2 separate regions of the Homo sapiens genome follow, and region 1 is linked to region 2. The links are contacts of gene promoters, found by promoter capture Hi-C in blood cells and fetal thymus (Javierre and others, 2016). All regions are on one chromosome and are shown on one strand. The core of a region is centred on a gene start or on the middle of the fragment in contact, and the rest is flanking DNA. Distances in the headings are between cores, read along the strand shown.

Region 1 (5,304 bases), core at 1,602-4,101, 190 kb after region 2:
AACAACAGGAATACTATATATAGATTTCATTAGCACCCCTTAAAAAAGCTATAATGAATTGCTAAAGGGGTGGAATAGGCAGAATATCTAAAAGGATTCTGGAAGGGACTGGATCCTGTTAGACGTGCCTGCCAAGACTGAGCCAAGCCAACCTTGATGGCTGACTTCAGGACTCAGCTGACAAAGTTTCTGAAGTGGTTGTAACATGATTCTGGACCCATTGGTGGCCTAGTTCCTGTTTTCTTTGTGACTGGGAAAGTAAGTATGTTGAAAAAAACATATTCCAACACCAAATGTAAATGACTTTCAGCTTGTCCACATTACTGCTCCCCTCCAGAAACACAATGAGACTTCACTAGTATGTTCGGTGCAGAGGAGGAGGGTGGGGCAGGGCCAGACAGGGTAGGGCTAAAGACTGGTGAGGTGAGGAAGGCAGCTGTGCCCAAGGAGATTTGTTTGCTGCAGAGGTTGGGAGCAGCTAATCCATGAGGCCTGCAGACCTGCAGGATGGGCATTGCCTAATTGCTAGTAGAAATGCAGTTTGTCGGGCCCCACCCCAAAGCTGCAGAATCAGAACTGCCAGAGGATTTCTGTCCACTTTGAAAGTTTGAGAAGCTCTGCTCTAGAGCGGATGCAGTTCTTAGAAGCTTGGTCACAATAGAAGCAAGCTGAGGAGGTGCATCCCCACGGGTGAGGGAGAGCAGAGCACTGCCCAGGTGGACAAGAGGGGTGCTGATTCCCCCATCACCGTGTGTGTTTGGCTGCCCTCATCGGCCAGGTCCCAGGCCCACTGGCTAAGCCCTCCAGCAAGGCTTTGGGCCACAGGGTAGGGTCCCAGTGACCAGTTTCTCGCTGAGGAGCAGGAAAGATGCAGAGAGCCACACATCTCACCTCTGAATGAAATCCCTGATGAGGTGTTGTGTGGTGGCTGCCATGTATCTTGGCTCTGTTTTCAGATGGCATTTTGGAGTTTTGGTTTGATTTTATTTTTCCTGAGGAATTTGCAAATGAGTAACCTTGCTACATTCTTCACAGATAGTGGCACTTGGGAAAGAGGCAGATTGAGGCTGGGCGCAGTGGCTCACGCCTGTAATCCCAGCACTTTGGGAGGTCGAGGCAGGCGGATGACCTGAGGTCAGGAGTTCGAGACCAGCCTGGCCAACATGGTAAAACCTCGTCTCTACTAAAAATACAAAAACTAGCTGGGCTGGTGGCATGGGCCTGTGATCCCAGCTACTTGAGAGTCTGAGGTGGGAGAATCACTTGAACCTAGGAGACAGAGGTTGCAGTAAGCTGAGATCGCACCACTGCACTCCAGCCTGGGCAGCAGAGCAAGAATGCATCTCAAAAATGAATTTAAAAAAAAAAAAAAAGAGGCAGCTTGGGATTAATTTGCTTCTGTTCCTCTTCAGCCCAGCATACTTTGTTTTCCTTTCACCTGTAAATGTAGAAAGTGCTTCAGTTTAGTTCTCAGAAAGCTCAAGAGAAAACCACACAGTTGCTCATACGGGCCCTGACACTTTGAGGAAGGAGGAACAAGGTCTGGTTTTATTTCTTCTGGCTTTGCCTTCTGTGCAGTGTGTGGTGTCGGACTCCATGGAAGAGCAGTCACCCTGAGCATCTGACTAGTCTGCCTTTGAGGTCCAGGGTCAGTCAAGCCCCAGTTAGATTCCTGTGTTTGTGTCAGCCTGTAAAAAGTGCCACCTTGGCAGGCGTGTTAGCCTGCATGGCTGAGGCGTCACCCTAGTTCTGAGTTTTCTCAGGGGTGGTGGTACCTACAGCTTCTTGCCCTAATTTTTTTTTCACTTAATTGGAGGACTAATGATTATAAATCTCGTGCATATCAGCTGCACTGTGTTTTTACAGTACTCTCCACCTTCTTGGGAGAGTTTTAATTAGATGGTATTCCACTAAAGAAACCTACAAGTCTCTCTGATTTATTTATTTATTTATGAGACAGAGTCTCACTCTGTCGCCCAGGCTGGAGTGCAGTGGCGTTTTCTCGGCTCACTGCAACCTCTGCCTCCCAGGTTCAAGCAGTTCTCTGCCTCAGCCTCCCGAGTAGTTGGGATTACAGGTGCCCACCACCACGCCCGGCTAATTTTTGTATTTTTAGTAGAGACAGGGTTTCACCATCTTGGCCAGGCTGGTCTTGAACTCCTGACCTCGTGATCCACGTGCCTTGGCCTCCCAAAGTGCTAGGATTACAGGCATGAGCTACCGCACCCGGCCCTCTCTTTTATTTTCTTGAGACAGGATCTCGCTCTGCTGCCCAGGCTGGAGTGCAGTGGTATGATCATGGCTCACTGCAGCCTTGATCTCCTGGGCTCAAGCAATCCTCCCACCTTAGCCTCCTGAGTAGCTGGGACTACAGGTGCCTGCCACATGCCTGGCTAATTTTTAAATTTTTTGTGGAGACATGGTTTCACTATGTTGACCAGGCTGGTCTCAAACTCCTAGGCTCAAGCTGTCCTCCTGTCTTAGCCTCCCAAAGTGCTGGGATTATAGGCGTGAGCCACTGCACCTGACTGAGACCTGCAATTCTTTAGAAGCTTAAAATTATCCTAGGTTTACCATGGAAAGGCCTTCTTAGGCCGGGTGTAGTGGCTCAATGCCTGTAATCCCAGCACTTTGGGAGGCCAAGGCAGGAGGATTGCTTGAGCCCAGCAGCTCAAGACCAGCCTGGACAACAGGGAAAGACCTCGTCTCTACAAAAAAATTTAAAAATTAGCCAGACATGGTAGCACATGCCTATGGTCCCAGTTTCTCAGGAGACTGAGGTGGGAGGATCGTTTGAGTCCTGGAGGTCGAGGCTGTAGTGAGCCATGATCGTGCCACTGCACTCTAGCCTGGGTGACAAAGCGAGTCCCTGTCTCAAAGATTAAAAAATAAATAAATAAAAATGAAAGGCCTTCTTAGCAGAAGTGTTTTAGTCTGTGTAACAACTGTAAGAGCCGCAGATGAACTTTTGATCCCCCACTCGAGATCATGTCGTTCTTCTTTTTAAAGTCACCCCTTTCCCACTCATGTCAACGGAAGCAGTATCCTTTTCTGTCTTTGGTCAGTGGAATGCAGTGTGGCCACTCTGTTTTAAAAAGTCACTATCAAAGGGAGGATGTGCACTCACCTGGTTTCCATGGGTCCCAGAGAGAAGCTTCCCCTCTCTTTTTCCTCTCCTTGGCCTTTGTTTGGTTTAATGTTTTCCGCATCTCAGACATTCTCATTTCTCCGAAGTCCTTCACAGTTGCACCGCATTGCTTAGTTTTGGGTCTCTGATGTTTGATGTCATGGAGAGAATTTTGAGGGAAGAGTGTGCAGAAAGAAACCCATTGAAAGCTCAGGGTTTTCTTTAAACTTCCAGATTCTTTTAAAGCAAGTTCGAAGTGTCATCCTTAGTCATTTATTGGTTCATGTTGGCCTTGAGAGAATCAGCTGCATTCTTGCTGTGCTCTGCAGAGCAGCCTTCCACCCCTGCTCAGCAGGAGGTACTCAAAGGCCATTGTAAGGGAGAAGGCAGGCTGCTCCCCACAGAGCAGGACAAGCAGAGGCCATGATGCTGGCACCACACCGAGGACAGCACAGGAGCCTTGGGCTGCTTCTTGGCATCGAGGGCACTCCACAGTGGGAGTCTAGTAAAAGTGGCTGCTCCCTTTTCAGTGTTTCCTGTAGCTCTACTTTTTCACACCCACCCTGCCCCACATAGTCCACCTGCAGCCTGGCTGATTCCTAATTATCCTTGAGGTCTTGTCGTTAGATATTTCCTCTGAGAGGTCTTTCCTGACACACACACACACACACACACACACACACACACACACACACACACACACGTCCCATAGCACCCTGTACTTCATTCTTACTGGCCCTCACCATGCCGGGTGGCATGTGCATCCTTGCTCATCTCTTTGGTGTCCATGATGGTGAGGACCTGTGTCTGTTTCATTCGCCAGCCCCTGCCACAGAACTGGCACATTCTAGGATTCAGTGAACACTTGGTGAAGGAGTGAGTGAATGGAAGTGCCTGTTGCGTGTAGGACCTAGTAGCCAGCCTAAATGAGAAGATTTAGCCTTGAGGTTATTTTAGTACAATAGGGAAGACCATCAGTATTCTTGGCCATGGAAATAATTCAGGGGGAAAAAAAGAAGGTTCTGAAGTGTATAGGAAAAGGTATAAATTCAATACAAGTTGGGAAATTAGCACCTAGATAAGACTAGAGGGTCTGGCCCTCAGTTTTGTAGGCTCAAAAATGTTTTTTTAATATACATAGCTGTCAGTTGGAAGCGGATTGACTTAAATTCACAAGAGCTACTTTATGAATAATCAAATGGTGGGTTTTGGCTGGGCGCCGTGGCTCATGCTATAATCCCAGCATTTTGGGAGGCCAAGGCAGGAGGATCACTTGAGTCTAGGAGTTTGAGACCAGCCTGGGCAACAGTGAGACCTCATCTCTATGAAAAATAAAATTAGCCAGGCGTAGTGGCGCATGCCTATAGTCCCAACCACTCGAGAGGCTGAGATGGGAGGATCGTTTGGGCCTAGGAGGTCGAGGCTGTAGTGAACCAAGGTTACGCCACTGCATTCCAGCCTGGGCAACAGAGCAAGACCCCATCTCGCCAGTCATGAGTTTCCTAACTAGGGAAGAAAAATATGACCTCTCTCCCAAGCAAACCTGTTGGGAAGCCTGATTACCAACAGAGCAGGCTGCTTCCCTGTTGTGTGTCCCTGCACTTTCCAGATCCTGACCTGCAGCACGTGGATAATGACTCATTTATTTACTATTTCCCCAGAAGATGGTATGTCTCATGAGGACAGGGACTTGGTCCTTTTTCCTGCTGTACACTAGGGGCTGGCATGGTCACTGAGTCACTGGTGCACGGTTGGTGCTCAGTAATGTGTCTGATGGAAGAGGGTGAGATGATCAGTGCCAGCGGTGGTGTCGTGTGCTGCAGCCTGATGCAGCCCTTTCCACCACACTTGCCCCACAGATTATCATTCTGGGAAGGTCTAGAGCTTCCTGTTACATGTTAGAATGAAATGTTTGGACTTTGGGAGGCCGAGGCGGGTGGATCACTTGAGGCCAGGGGTTTGAAACCAGCCTGGCCAACATGGTGAAACTCCATCTCTACTGAAAAAAAAAAAACAAAACACCAAAATTAGCCAGCGTGGTGGCGGACACCTGTAATTCCAGCCACTCGGGAGTCTGAGGCAGGAGAATTGCTTGAACCAGGGAGGTGAAGGTTGCAGTGAGCCAAGATCGCACCACTGTACTCCAACCTGGGCGACAGAATGAGACTGTCTCAAAA
Region 2 (5,187 bases), core at 2,277-4,776:
CAGTCTTTCCTTCCAAGGACTGTCATGAAATCCTTAAGGATGTCCCTTGATTTGAGGTTGTCTGATGTTACCTTATGATAATATTCAGGTTATGCGTTTTGGGCAGGAATATCATAGAAGTGATGCTGTGTTCTTCTCAATGCATTTCGTATCAGGTGATACATGATTTCAATTTGCCCCATTAGTGGTAACGTTAACTTTGATCACTTCATTAAGGTGATGTTTGCCAGGCCTCTCCATTGTAAAGTTACTCATTTTCCCTTTGTAATTAAGTAGTGTTTTGTGGGTTTTCTCCACTTCAATTACTGAAATTCTATTCAAAGAAACAGTTCAAATGCCACCACCTCCTTCAAGCTTTCCTAGCTCCTCAATTTCTCATTCCTCTATCCTACTAGAGCTTTTTGCACCTTTATCAGTATTTAATTTTGTCTTAAATAGTAGTTAACTGGCTGGGCACAGTGGCTCATGCCTGTAATCCCAGCACTTTGGCAGGCCAAGATGGGCGGATCATGAGGTCAGGAGATAGAGACCATCCTGGCTAACACAGTGAAACCCCGTCTCTACTAAAAATACAAAAAATTAGCCAGGTGTGGTGGCACACACCTGTAGTCCCAGCTACTCAGCAGGCTGAGGCAGGAGAATCACTTGAATCCAGGAGGCAGAGGTTGCAGTGAGCTGAGATCGCACCACTGCACTTCAGCCTGGCTGACAGAGTGAGACTCCGTCTCGAAAAAAATAAACAAAATAAATAAACAAATAGTAGTTACTAATTACCATCACCAACTATAGTTTATAAGCAATAAATAACAGACTAGAGCATCAGGGCTCTGGAGTTGGAAGACTTAGATTCAAATCCCAACTTTGTCACCAACAACTATGTAACTTGAGGTAAGTTACTTCATCTCTTCCAACCTGATTCCTATTCTTCAACTGGAAAATGGAATGAATAATCCTCACTGAATAAATGGTTATGAGGATTAAATAAAACACCCTGTGTAAAGAATTTACCAGAGTCCAGCTGGGTGCAGTGGCTCACGCCTGTAATCCCAGCACTTTGGGAGGCTGAGGTGGGTGGATCACGAGGTCAGGAGATCGAGACCATCCTGGCTAACACGGTGAAACCCTGTCTCTACTAAAAATACAAAAAATTAGCCAAGTGTGGTGGTGGGCGCCCGTAGTCCCAGCTACTGGGGAGGCTGAGGCAGGAGAATGGTGTGAACCCAGGAGGCGGAGCTTGCAGTGAGCGGAGACAGCGCCACTGCACTCCAGCCTGGGTGACAGAGAGAGACTCCGTCTCAAAAAAAAAAAAAAAAAAAAAGAATTTACCAGAGTCCTAGGCTCAATAAACGTTAGCTAGCATTATTTTTTGCCATCCTTGATCATGAGAACCCTGTGTTCCATGCACCTGCTTCTTCTCTTCACTTCTTTTATGATACTAAATTTAATTTTAAAATAATACCAAAAAGTGGCAAGAACAGTACAAATAACTTTCTTTTCCCCAAATATTTGACAGTATGCTGCTGACACAATGCCTCTTCACCTCCTAATACTTTAGAGCAAGAGTTGACAAACTCTGACCTGTGGCCAAATCTGGCCCCTCCAACTGTTTTTGCATGGTCCTCCAGCTAAGAATGCATTTTACATTTTTATTTTTTTATTTTTTTGAGACGGAGTCCCGCTCTGTTGCCTAGGCTGGAGTGCAGTGGCACGATCTCGACTCACTGCAACCTCCGCCTCACAGGTTCAAGCGATTCTCCTGCCTCAACCTCCCAAGTAGCTGGGATTACAGGCACCCGCCATCACACTTGGCTAATTTTTGTATTTTTAGTAGAGACGGGGTTTCAACCATGTTGGCCAGGCAGTCTCGAACTCTTGACCTCAGGTGATTAGCCCACCTCGGCCTCCCAAAGTGCTGAGATTACAGGTGTGAGCCACCGCACCCGGCCACATTTTACATTTTTAAATAATTGAGAAAAAAGTACCAATGCTAACACAGCCAATAGCCAAGACAGCACCTTGCATAAGTAGGAACTGGATAAATGTTAACTGAATGGGATGTTTAATTTTAAGATGCTGATATTTCTTGGATTAGACTGATACCTCCAACTCCCTCAATGCCACCTGCTGGGTGCTGAATGTAGAGAGAGAATTGGAGCTCCAAGGACCAATAATTAAATGTAAATTATTATGGAAACTTTCACATGCATATTCTTTTTACTTCTAAAAAGCTACTATCGCATTTATGCTTATCTCATTCTCCCAAGACCCCAGTCAAGGGATTGAAGAAATTATTTATTTATTTTATATATATTTTTTGAGACAGAGTTTTGCTCTTGTTGCCCAGGCTGGAGTACAACGGCACGATCTCAGTTCACTGCAACCTCCGCCTCCTGGTTTCAAGCGATTCTCCTGCCTCAGCCTCCCGAGTAGTTGGGACTACAGGAGTGCACCACTACGCCTGGCTAATTTTTTTGTATTCTTAGTAGAGATGGGTTTTCACCATGTTGGCCAGGCTGGTCTCGAACTCCTGACCTCAGGTGATCCGCCCGCGTCTTTCTCCCAAAGTGCTGGGATTACAGGCGTGAGCCACCGCGCCCGGCCGATTGAAGAAACTGTTATAGAAAGCTGTTCATGGAACAAGCCAAGCTCATTTCTGCCTCAGGGCCACTGCACTTGCCTTTCTCTTTGTCCAAAACGCTCTCCCCTTTGATATTTTTCACCTTGTTCCTTTATTTCAATCAAGTCTCCACTAAAATGTCATCTTCTCTGTCACTCTAAAAAGTCCCCCATACATACTCTCCAACTTCCCACTTTCACTGTTTTATTGCTATTCACAAATGTTATACATTTATCACTAGCTGACTTGTATCTAGTTGTTTACTGTTCATTTCCCCAACTACAATTGAAGCAAAGACTTTGTTCACTTAGTACTGTGCCTAGCATAGACTAAGCCCTCAATAAGTATTTACTGAACTAATGAATGACTCTAACAAGGTACACAGAATATAGCTGATTTGCCCACAGTTACACAAAACTAGCGACTCATGGTAACAAACCTCACTGCCGCTTCCCGCTACAATGCAGGAGCTCAGAGGACTTCGGAGGGAACTTGGCAAAGAACGGCTGAAAGCGGCACGGATAGAAGAGGAAGTGAGCGAGGGGACTGGACAGTTAGAGCACCACTCCTACCTAGCGATACGATTTTACGGACTGAGGCTATAGAGGCAGCCCCGAAATCGAGGTGTGTGCGTGTGTGCGCGCTTCGGAAGCCTTGGGAAGGCACGAGGACGACAGGGTCTTCCATTCTTTTTCCCGCTCCAGGCCTCAATTTACCGATCCGTAAAGCGAAAGGGGCCAATAGCATATAAGGCCCCTTCCAGATCTGACGCTTTTTAATTTCCTATCCCACCTGGAGCAACCCTTCCGTGCCGCTGACCCGCTTCAACTTACCTCTCGCCTGCTCAGCTAAGAGTTCCCAGGCCGCTGCCGGAGATCGTGCTTCCGCCCCACGCCGAGGAAACGCCTGCGCCCGCCGCCAGGAAGGACCCCGCAGACGCCGCTGTCGCCTTTCTGCCCGGGAGGACAACCCTCTGCCTGAGGACCAGTTCCGAGGTATGCCCGCCGCGGACTGGCAAGGCGGAGTAGCGGGTCCCCAAGACGAGTAGCCCAAGACGTGGGCTGCTCCAAAGAGGGTGAGAGCTGAGGATGAACGAATCTGATCAGGCGCCTCGGGACCACCCTGAAAATGGGGGGAGGGGCCTTCGGGCAGATCACGTGGTCAGGCTGTTAGCGCAGTTGCTAGGCAACCACAGCTGCGGGCGTGGTCTGCGCGGGGTTGCCCTCCTGTTCTGGTTTATCAGGGGATCCCCAAAGAAAGCAAGGGGACCAAGGCCGGGACTGCTGGGGTGAAGGTCCGGGAGGCTGAGTAAGGGGACGGAAGGGTTAGTTCTATGTATTAAATGCCTGGGGAGGGCTGAGAACTGGACACCTGATTTCGGTTACTGGCCACCCCAGCCCCTTCTTGGCGTTCAGATTCCCTACGTTGGGGTAGGGTGGCTATGGGATTGGTTGGGGACTTCCTGCTTCCTTGCGCTAGGGCTGTTGGTGATGACCCCGCCACAAAATCTAGCTCAACTCACTAGGAGTTTGCAGTTCAGAGAGGTCCCACAAGTAAATGCCAGAGCCACGACTAGAACCCACGTAGAGAATCTCTCTGCAGTGGCTCACGCCTGTAATCCCAGCACTTTGGGAGGCCGAGGCGCGCGGATTACTTGAGGTCAGGATCGAAAATTGCTTGAACCCCGGAGGCAGAGGTTGCAATGAGCCAAGATCGCGCCACTGCACTCCAGCCTGGGCAACAGAGCCAGAAAAAAAAAAAAAGAAAAGAATATCTCTGTAGAAATGATCAGTCAGCCTCAGATATGCAGAAACTACAGAAGTACAGTGATAGAACTAAAGGCATTGCCCAGGTACCTAGGGACCTCTGTTCCAGCCCTGGGCTGGACAGAGGGATTTGGGGATGGGGTCATTGAGCTCCTTCCTTTGCCCCTTCTACTTGATTTCCTGCTCAGTCATTGCATCTGGTTTGGGTGAAAGTCTCCTTCCTCATTAAAGACATTCAATGAAGAATGAAACTTTATCCCCGAGCTCAAGGGTAACTAACAAGAGTTCTGCCTTTGTGTGAGGTCCCCTGTCGAAACGACTTGCTGTAGAACAATCCTATGGGGGAAGAGTGAAGAAACTGAATTCTGAGATCCCAATGCCTCCTCGACTGAAGCACCAAAATTAAAAATATTTTTAGAGGCAAAGAGCAAAATTAAGACAGAACTCCAAATTGAAAGTCAGGACTCTGTATTCTATTTTCAGGGACAAGTCTTGTGTAAGTCCTCACTGTGAAATTCAACTTGTCTTTGTAAAATAGAAAACCAGATTTTTGTAACACCTCCCAATCTGAGTGACATGATGTCCAGAGTGCTTTGGGGTCATTTTGTGTTCTGGTGAATAATTCAGAGGTACCCTCTTTCCCCTGATATTGACTGTCCACTGACATGTATTCCCTTTGCCTTCCCAGGCACAGGCCATGGAAAGGAATGACATCATCAACTTCAAGGCTTTGGAGAAAGAGCTGCAGGCTGCACTCACTGCTGATGAGAAGTACAAACGGGAGAATGCTGCCAAGTTACGGGC

What was found. The method cuts DNA at HindIII sites, captures the fragments that hold promoters and counts their contacts. A CHiCAGO score of 5 or more calls a contact.
Region 1: a contact is called between a fragment that was not itself captured here and the fragment with the promoter of EFTUD2 in region 2, in 2 of 17 cell types (endothelial precursors and erythroblasts). The highest score is 6.4, in endothelial precursors.

What each region holds. Positions count from the first base shown.
Region 1 is chr17:45,087,408-45,092,711 of GRCh38, forward strand. The region is part of intron 3 of NMT1 (N-myristoyltransferase 1); the gene reads left to right. Among named protein-coding and RNA genes, the nearest start is that of MIR6784, 24 kb to the right of the region's middle. RefSeq lists an enhancer at 3,317-3,818. The HindIII fragment of the contact is 602 bases long and covers 2,551-3,152 here.
Region 2 is chr17:44,895,919-44,901,105 of GRCh38, forward strand. It overlaps EFTUD2 (elongation factor Tu GTP binding domain containing 2), which reads right to left and starts at 3,527. Exons shown (of 28, transcript NM_004247.4): 1 at 3,451-3,527. DNAAF19 (dynein axonemal assembly factor 19) reads left to right here and starts at 3,811. Exons shown (of 4, transcript NM_213607.3): 1 at 3,811-3,941; 2 at 5,072-5,187. The coding sequence starts at 5,081. The HindIII fragment of the contact is 5,429 bases long and covers 353-5,187 here.